2 separate regions of the Homo sapiens genome follow, and region 1 is linked to region 2. The links are contacts of gene promoters, found by promoter capture Hi-C in blood cells and fetal thymus (Javierre and others, 2016). All regions are on one chromosome and are shown on one strand. Each heading gives the region's core, a stretch centred on a gene start or on the middle of the fragment in contact. The rest is flanking DNA. Distances are from core to core; before and after follow the strand shown.

Region 1 (4,680 bases), core at 151-2,650, 310 kb after region 2:
GCGACAGATGGAGTCGGGAAGGCACAGCCCCAGGGCTGCTTAGGTCGCGGGCTCACCTGATGGCCGGGTGCCGCAGGTGTGTGTTGAGGGCCTCGGCCAGGACCTCGGGCGGGAAGGGCGGCCGGCCTGAGCGGCGCTGGACGTCCAGGTGCGCCGCGTTGCTCAGGGCGTGGACCCCGGCGTCCGTGCGGCTGGAGATGGTGAACCTGACCGGCTCCACGGAATTCAGCCGCTCGGCGGCCTCCTGCAGGACCGAGCCGCGGGGCGGGCGGGTGAGCGAGGCCGGACCCCGGGGACGCGCGGGCGGGAGCCTCCCCCTTACCCCTCACCGGGCGTCCCGTGACCGGCTGAGCGCACCTCCAGGTAGTTCTGGACCCCGACGGCGCGCTGAGTGCCCCTGACGGCCGCGACCCCGCTGCGGGCAGAAGCGGGCGGAGGTTACCGGGGGCGCCCTGCCCTGGGGTCTCCGCCGCCGTCTGAGGCCAGGGCCGCTTCCTTCCCCGAACGTTTGGAACCCGCGTCCAGAGACATCCGCCTGCCCGCCCGCGCCCTCCTTCCCGCCTCCGCCCGGGCCCACGTGGCGCCCGCCGCTGCGCCTGGGAAACCTACTTAAAGTCGGTGCCCACGTACTGGAAGTACACAAGATAGCGCGCGCGCACGGAGCCTGAGGCCGGCGCCGAACTCATGGCGGAGCCCAGCCGGTGGCGTCAGAGGCGGCCTCCAGCGCAGGAATCCTGCGCGCGCGCGGACGCGGCCTGGTCACGCCCCCCCCCCCTCCCCCCCGGCCCCGGCCGCTCTTGCGCCTGCGCGGTGGCACCGCGCCACGGCGGCCAGAGTCGGGGAGCGGAGGCGGGGCCGGGCTTAGGGAGCGGCTGCAAAGTGCCGGCCCGCCGCCGAGCGCAGGCGCTCTACCTCTATCGCGGCGCCCCGGGAGGCGCGCACCAACCACGCGGTCACCCCGCGCTCTCGCGGGCGTGCATTCGTTCACTCGCTCATTCATTCGCCGCCGCCCACACTCCCCGAGCGCGCCCGTTCGCCGCGTTGCGGCCAAGTCCTCCCAGACGTGGTTTTTGCAAACGCCCTGAGTTGCGCAACGGCCGGGATGGTTGGAGCGGGCGGGCCCGCGCCCTCCCCGCGCCCTCCCCGCGCCCCACATTTCCACCGACTGTCCCCGGAGACGGCCGTGGCAGGCCCCGCCTCACTTCCGGACCGGGGTGGTCCCTGGACGCTGCGAGAGGCGTTTGGCGACGCTCCCCGGCGGTGACAGCGGGCGGCGCGCGCGGGCGGCGGACCTTGGCGACGCTCCCCGGCAGTGACAGCGGGCGGTGCGCGCGGGCGGCTGACTTTGGCGACGCTCCCCGGCGGTGACAGGCGGGGCGGGGCGCGGCGCGGCGGCCTCATTCCGGGGCGGGCGGGCGCCGAGGCGGCGCGGGCGGGACGAGCGGTCCGGGCCGGCGCGGCTGCCGCTCGGCGCCGCGGTCCTCGTGCCAGTGAGCGCCGCGGCCGCCGCAGCCATGACCGTGGAGTTCGAGGAGTGCGTCAAGGACTCCCCGCGCTTCAGGTGCGCCGCCCGGGGCCGCCGGGGTGGGCGCAGGCCGGGGGCGTCGCTGTCGCCTTTGTGCCCGGCGGCGGGGTGGGGAGGTCAGCGCCGGGCCGGGCCGCGGCCGCCGGGGAGGGGCTGGAGGACCGGCCTCGGACAAAGCGGCGGCCCCGCCCCGCCATGCCCCGGGGGTTGGAACAAAAGACGCTCCTGCCCTGTGCGGCCGCCCCGGGTGGAGGGCGTGCGCGTGGGCAGCCGTGGGCACCTCGGGACCGTCCGCCCCCGCTCTGTGTCTGCACCTCCACTGGGCTGAGCCCCTCCCGGGCCCTGCAGTCCAGCTCTGGCCAGGGTCGTCTGGGTCCGTGGGGGCGTCGGCCCCTGGTCTCTGACTTGATCCTGTGTCCAGAGCAGCGCGTGGGGAACAGGCAGCTGGAGCCGCGTTTAAGGCCTGGGGTAGGGTGCTTGGAAACGTGAAGTGGTTTGAATGACCCAGGGGCTTGGAGGGGTGGCGGCCGAGAAGAGCGGCGGGGAAGGTCAGGTAGGGGGTAGGGGTTGTGTGCACACCGAGTCTGCATGTTTTCCATCATTCGTGGCGTGCAGGCGTGTACACCTGCGTGAACTACATGTTCACAGACGTGTGCACAAGTGTGCATCGGCTTTGCTTGGTGGACATTTGGCAAACGACAATGGAGGCAAAGAAACCTCTCTGCATCCCCAAGTGCGCACCTGCGTGAGGCCCCCTCCTCTGCACGAGCTCGTGCGGGGTGCGCTCTTGTGAACTTTGCCCCTCTGCGTGCCTCCCTCCGGACACCAGGCCTTGCACAGGACGTGTGGATGAGCTGTGCCACGGGGCTGTGCTTGCTTCTGCATGTAGCCTGCCGATGAGTGCACGCAAGCGTGTGCACACACCACCTGTCTGTGTGGGTTCACGTACTGTGTTAGCCATGTCAGCAATAGACACATCACCTTGTACACGCGTGTTCCATCACTAGGTACACATGTTGATGCGTGTCTGTGCAGTGTCTCCTTGAACACACATGTATGTGTGGTACCAGTGTGTGCAGGCATGTTTGTGCATGAACATGTTTGCACATGTGTGCTTGATTGTGTATGTGTGGGTGTGCACGCGCGCGCTGGGTCTCTTGGGATCTGCTGGCAAGTCAGCATGTGTGTGGAGGCACGGGGAGCCTCTGTATCCCTGGAGCCCTCACCAGGAGGCTCAGGAGCCTTGGAGTGGGAGGCTCAGGGCCAGCCAGGAGAGTGGCCGCCAGCCCTGGGCAGAGGAACTGGGGCCATCCTCTGCTCTCCCATCTTCTGTTGCTGACCTGGGAAAAGGGGTTGAATAACTTGAGCACCCTAGGATCCTGCATTGAGGACCCGGGCTGTGGGGAGGTGTGGGCATGGCCTCCCTGCTGGGGGCTGGACCCTGGCTGAAGCACCCACCTTCTCCCTGGCCCCTCCGTCAGAAGCCTAATGGACCTCCTCCTCCACGCAGACGGCCCTGTACTGCCCTCTTCCAGTCGTGTGGGGGTGCTGGAACCCACTCACCTCTGGGCCTTCTCTCTGGTAACCGGCTCTCATGGGAGCCTGTTACAGGAGCCAGTTATGGGGGCTGTGGGGCTGCAGTAGGTGCCGTAGAGTGACTGCCCTGGGAAAGTGCCTCACCCCTGTGGGGCATGGACTGGAGTGGGGAGATGAGAATGGCCTGGCCCAGTGGGTTTTGGGGTTAGGCTGTGATTTAACTGGGGTTCGAGGGGCTCCCTGAGGCTGTCCTGGGGGCAGGCCCTAAGGGCGTAACTTGAGTTTCCTGGCCTACCGCCAGGTTGGGGGGCCAGGCAGGGTGGGCGGGAAGATGTGGTCTGTAACGTGGAGCCTGGTCGCCCCAGCCCGGGAGAGGGGGACCCTGCCCGCACCCTCCTGGTCTGGGGAGGGCCTAGTGGCAGCCCAGGTGCAGTGGGCCGGAGGCCAGGGGAGCCCGTGTAGGGGAACCGCCTGGCCTCTGTTCAGTGTGCCCCTCCCCTGGGTGGGGCTTCAGGCGCTGAGTCATGGCTTTGGTTGGGGGGCAGCCTCACCCTCCTCCCCGTCCTCCAAGCTGCTGAGGAAATCCTGGGCTGAGCACAGCAGAGGAGGCCTAGGTCCCCAGGACTGAGGAAGGGAGAGCTGAGGGGCTCCCAGCAGTGGGAGCGGCTCTCGGGGCCTCTGCCAGGGCCCACCCTGTCCCCATGAGCACGTCCGTGAGCTCCTGGGTGCAGCCATCCCCCCTTGCTGGCTCTCCAGGGACACGGGCGCCCCAAACCCGAGGGCGGCAGCTCTGGGTGCAGCTGTCTCTGCATCCGGCCCTGCTCAGGGGTGGCTGCAACTCCTGGGGTGTGGCGCTCTCTGCTGCCTTCTCCTGGGAGGATGGTCCCTTCTCTGTTCTGGGATCCTCCAGCTGAGGTAGAGGTCAGGGTCCAGGGGCTGCAGGCTGGGCACTGGCGGTCAGCGGACACCACAGCGAGATTCCCTCCATCGCCCCCTGCTTCGGGATTCAGAGTCCTCTTAGCCCCTTGGGAACAAGAGAGGGCTGCTCAGAGAGGACCTAGTGTCCTTCTGGGGTGGCTGGGACCCTTCAAGGTCCCTGGCTGGGGCAGCCTGGTGCCTGCAGCTCCAGCTCCTAATTGAGGACACGCCCCATGTAAACCACAGGCCCCTCCCCCGAGGCCTGGGACACCGGTCAGGGTAGCAAGGTACGAGGGACTGTAGGCCCTGATGGCCTCTGCTCCTGGACCCCTGCCCTAGACCTGGAGTCCTGGCCCCAGCCCGGGCCCTGTGGTGCCCAATCCCCAGGAGGCCAGATGGCCCGGACAGCCAGTGAGCCGATTGTGTGGAGGGCTGCCGGGATCCTGGCCCTGTTTCCCTGTTGCCTGCTCCCGGAGGGGGTGGTCACGTGCCCGATCCATCTGCCTCCTGTCTTCCGGGGATTCTCCCGCCGAGGCTTCTCTGGTGATGTCATGCCTTAACTCTTCTCTCCCCAGGCAGCCCCACTGTCAGGCTGTCCTGGTGGGAGTGGGCTCTGAGGAGGATGGCCTACCCGTCTTTCCAGCGGACCATGCCGCTTGCAGCTGTGAGGTTGGGGGAGCCGGGGGCGTCTCTCCCCAGCT
Region 2 (4,596 bases), core at 1,994-4,493:
AGGAGCCCACCCACCACCCAGGGTGACCCACAGGCCCTCCCCATGGGCCCCTGTGGCACTATTCCCCTCGCGGGGCCTCTGAGGGCAGCCCCCAGGTGGTGCACTGCTGCGTCCTGTTTGGCCAGGACCCCACCAGCTTCAGCTTTGACTGAATGGCTGCATGAATGAAACATAAGAACCAGAGAGAATCTGTGCCAGGCTTCTGTGACAGCGGCAGCCCCTGTGTCCCGAGGACCCGCCCAGCACAGGCCGCTTCTAGCCATCCCAGCGCTGACTGCGCCTCACCCAGAGCATGTCCAGGTGGACACAGTTCCACCGGCCAGCCCAGCTCCATGGCCCCACCTGGGTCATGACACTTGACTCTCCAGATCTCTGCAGACCCTCCCATCCCCACTGGGGGCTGTCTTGGAGGGAGGTCACTCCCTCCTGCCCCAGCAGCTCCCCACTGCCTGCTCTGCCACCAGCTGGGGGGCAGGCTCTGCAGGGTTCCTGCTCCCAGGATCCACAAACTGACCTCAGCTTTTGCCCATGGAGCACCCAAGAAGGGTGAGGCATGGCCTGGGCTGAGCTCCCCCACTCCAGCCTCCTCTACACAGGGACCTTCGCCACAGAATGGCACAGGCCGGGGAGGCCGACGCAGCAGTCTGCTGGCGGGGGGACAAGTGAGAGGGGCACTGCTCCTTAGGGTTGCAGACCCCACCCCCTGCCAGGCCGTCCACCTCCACCAGATCCACACGCAACCTCCTCCTTGCCAGGATCCCACCAGAATCGGCCACAGCTGGAATCACACTAAGCCGGGGACTCCTCCCTGCCAAACACCTCCACTTAGCCAGAGCAGGGCTCATCACAGGCAGCCGCAGAACCGACTGGAGGTCTTTGCTAGTAGGGGACACGCATCTGCCGACCCCCGAGATGGGCCCGGCAATGGAGATGAAGGACTTGGGACCGCAAAAAAGCCAATGCCATGAGCCCACACTGTGATCCTTCTGCAGCAGGGGGCGCCTTCTGTCTCTGCGCCCAGACTCTCAGCCACAGCCAGCTTAGCCCAGGCCAGCGGCCACACCTGCCCGACCCGCTGGCCATATGCCATTGGACCTTTCCAAAAAGACAGGGGCAGGGTGCCCCATGTGTGAGCCAATGTGTCCTGTGCTTTGGCAAATCTTGCCCTTGGGGGGATGGGCAGAGGGCAGAGATGTCGGGGAGGTCACCAGCAGGGCCTCTGGGAATCAAGACCAAGCCTTGGCGGCCCCCGCGTCACAGGGGCAGTGGGGTGGAGTGCCAAGGCCATCAGCCTGAGACAGGGTAGCCTGTGCCCCAGACTGGCACCTGTCTGCAGCATGCCCGGTATTTTTAGCACAGCCAGGCAGCTCTCCAGCCCTGGCCCACAAACCCCCACCCTCCCAGAGGCTGTCCCTCATGGAAGCCCACCTGAGTTGGGGCACAACTGGGCTGAACACAGGCAGGGCTTCCTCCCTGGCCTCACTTCTTGTGCCTGGAACCAGCCCCCCACTTGCTGAGGGCTGCCCCAACAAGGGGGACGAGCCTGGACAGGGGAGCTGGGTGCGCCCACCCACTCCCACCTCTCCCCGGGGGCTGGGATGTGAGCACACAGGGGCCTGTAGACCCGGCGCCTCCTCAAGGCCTCCCCTGCAGGGCCCCCACCCCAAGGGTCTGGGGTCTGTCCCACTTCCAAGGCAGTCCCTTCTGTCCAGCATGGCACTGCCCTGGAGTGGCCGCCTCATCTGAGCGGGGTCTCCAGCCATGCCTGCCCGCCTGCCAACCCTTCTGCGGTGCCAGTGTGCAGACAGACCACATGCGCGTGGATCCCAGGCTCAGGAGCTCAGTATCCTGGACCCTCTGGAGGGGCCAGCAGTTTTGGTTTTTTTGAGACGTAATCTCGCTCTGTCGCCCAGGCTGGAGCGCAGTGGCGCAATCTCAGCTCACTGCAAGCTCCGCCTCCCAAGTTCACGCCATTCTCCTACCTCAGCCTCCCGAGTAGCTGGGACTACAGGCGTCTGCCACCACACCTGGCTCATTTTTTCTATTTTTTAGTAGAGACGGGGGTTTCACCGTGTTAGCCAGGATGGTCTCGATCTCCTGACCTCGTGATCCGCCCGCCTCGGCCTCCCAAAGTGCTGGGATTCCAGGTGTGAGCCACTGTGCCCGGCCGCCAGCAGCTTTTGAGGCTCTGCCGCCTTTCTCCTCAGCTCCTTCCTGCAGCTGCCTGCCTGGCTTTCTCACCATTGCCCCAGGGCCAGCAGTCACCCAAGACCTGCCACTGGGCTCCTGGCACCCTGGCCCCAGGGCTCAGTACCTGCCTCCGAAGGCCTCTCTAGGGGGTGTTTGTGGTGGGGGCAGGAGGCAGTAATGAGACCCCCACAGGCAGGGAGGAGGGGCACCCCGCCAGGACCCAGCACTTGTATCCCTTGGTCTCTTCTCAAAGGGGACAGAGTGCACCTGCTTAGGGGCGGGAGGATCCAGCCCAGCATCGAGGGGCCTGCCCCATTCCCATTGTTCATGAGAGGTGGGGGCTGTGGGGTCGCACAAGCAGCCTGCCCATGTCAGAGGGAAGCTTGTGGACAAAAGGGCTCATCCCTTGGGCTTCCCTGACCATCCTGTCCTCCTGGGGCCATGGGACAGGTTCTGGGCTGGGTCTGGGTCAAGCTGACCCCGAGGGTACTGGCCACAGGACCCATCCCCTGGGCAGGCCTGGGAGCAGGTGATGTGGGGCTGGCGCTTGGCACACCCGCTGCAGACCTCAGGTGAGGACTTCCTGGAGGCAGGTGAGGAACACCAGATTAGGGGTAGGAGTGGGGTGGGCAGCCTGGAAATCAAGCCCTCTAGGACAGATGTTCCCCCAAGGGCCCCTCACTCCCTCTGCCTCCACCCTGGACCTGTCCAGCATCCATTCCTTCCTGGAGAGCAGGAGGCCTCTGGGTTGCCCCCTCCTATTTTTCTGTTCTACACCCACAAGGCTCCAGGTGCAGAGGAGGGGACCCGTGGGACCTGATCACCCTGATCACCTGCCCACAGCGGGTGAGCTCTGGGCCAGAGGCTGCTATGGGAAGTGCAGATGTCCAAGGCTAGCCCTGCCCTCACACCAACCTGGCCAAGGTTTCCCAGAAAGACAAACCAGAGACAGCCACAGCCACAGCCCAGCACTGGTGGAGGGGCTCCAGGGAGCAGACCAGCAGACCAGAGCTGTGGCCACGCAGCCCCTGGTGTACATCGTGGCGTACATGGCTGTGGCCACTCCTGCTCCTCCTCTTGGAAACATACAGCCCAGGCTTCCGCTTCAGGATGCTGCCCCACAATGGGTATCTTCATCTCAGTCAGAAATTTACTCAGAGAGTTACCAAATGTTTTTTCCTTTGCCAGAAATGCTAGACTTTGCCATCTACCCACAGTTCACAGGCTGTGCCCCTGGCTGGCATCTGAACCCCGCTGCAGGCAACTGCTCCCGATGTTTAAAATGATGGAGGCAGTCAGGGTGTGAAGACTCGGGCGACAGATCGACAGATGTGCTTTGGCAAATCGGAACTTACCTCAGAGCACACACCAGCCTCGAGGCAGCGTCCCAGGCATTTAATTGCTACTTCCTGGGTCACAGATTCGCTCGGCTACCAGGCTTTCCTGTTGGAAGCTAAAGCCACTGGAGACACAACACAGCAAACCAGACGGGCAGCCAGCAAGCCAGGCTGGAGAAAATGGTTTCTAAAGGCAGTGTCACACATTTAGCATTTACCGTCTTAACCACGCAAGCAGACACCGGGTCTGTTCTATTGCTGCTTAGTTTCTCTTTTTCACAAGAAACTGCAAGCTCTCAGAGGGCAGGAGGACTTCCGAACCATCAGTCAGGAGAGTGTAGGAGGAGAGAGTTCCCTTATTGCAAGTATTTTATCGGAGAAGCTTTAAAAGCCATAGAAACCAAATCCTATTTAGCGAGAAAGTTAGCAAATTGCCTTTATTCAGAAGAAGCAAGTTACATGGAACTGGACATGAGGCTGCCCTCCTCCTTGCACCTCCAGCTGTGCCTAATGACACCGAAATGCCGCTGTGTGTGGCACGCCACAGGCCATGGAGTAGCTCCAGCTAACGCAGATGGACATCCCAGGTGCCCCAGGGAGATCAGGCCCACGGAGTGGGATGAAGCCCTGAGGCGGGGAGGCCAGCATGGAGACACCTGCTGAGGGAAAGCCCACGAGCGCTGCGGCCACCTCCAATCCTGCCCATCTGGGTGGAGACCTACAGGCACCCTGCAGGCTGGGGTGTCATCCCACTCACCGCCCAGGGCTGCCCTCGGCCAGGAGAGCGCCACATTCAGACACTTGTTGCATGTGAGGCAACAGGCCAGGGTGGAACCGGACAAAGGGGGCCTCCCGGGAAGGGCCAGGCTTGCCGGCGCTCCTGCGCTGCGGCCGCTCTGCCCCAATCCTGCAGGTGCCTATCAGAGGCCTGTCTGGCACCTCTGCTTTCTTCCTCCATGGGTTCCGAACTCAGAGAGGAGACGCGGGATTACTCACCACTCCCCTCCACTCGCATGCATGCTCAGACACAAACACAGCCTCTCTGACGTGGCTTCCACGGAGCCCCAAA

Evidence for each region. The method cuts DNA at HindIII sites, captures the fragments that hold promoters and counts their contacts. A CHiCAGO score of 5 or more calls a contact.
Region 1: a contact is called between the fragment with the promoter of ACAP3 here and a fragment that was not itself captured in region 2, in 1 of 17 cell types (erythroblasts). The highest score is 6.8, in erythroblasts.

Annotation. Positions count from the first base shown.
Region 1 is chr1:1,304,650-1,309,329 of GRCh38, reverse strand. ACAP3 (ArfGAP with coiled-coil, ankyrin repeat and PH domains 3) reads left to right here and starts at 1,400. Exons shown (of 24, transcript NM_030649.3): 1 at 1,400-1,561. The coding sequence starts at 1,515. It overlaps PUSL1 (pseudouridine synthase like 1), which reads right to left and starts at 733. Exons shown (of 8, transcript NM_153339.3): 1 at 610-733; 2 at 358-415; 3 at 57-244. The coding sequence starts at 686. SNORD167 (small nucleolar RNA, C/D box 167) reads left to right here and starts at 4,518; the gene lies at 4,518-4,601. RefSeq lists silencers at 92-221, 232-371, 402-471, 692-1,371, 1,412-1,581 and 2 more and an enhancer at 4,556-4,680. The HindIII fragment of the contact is 38,674 bases long and covers 1-4,680 here.
Region 2 is chr1:1,616,665-1,621,260 of GRCh38, reverse strand. The region is part of intron 2 of MIB2 (MIB E3 ubiquitin protein ligase 2); the gene reads right to left. Among named protein-coding and RNA genes, the nearest start is that of MIB2, 3.5 kb to the right of the region's middle. The HindIII fragment of the contact is 1,337 bases long and covers 2,575-3,911 here.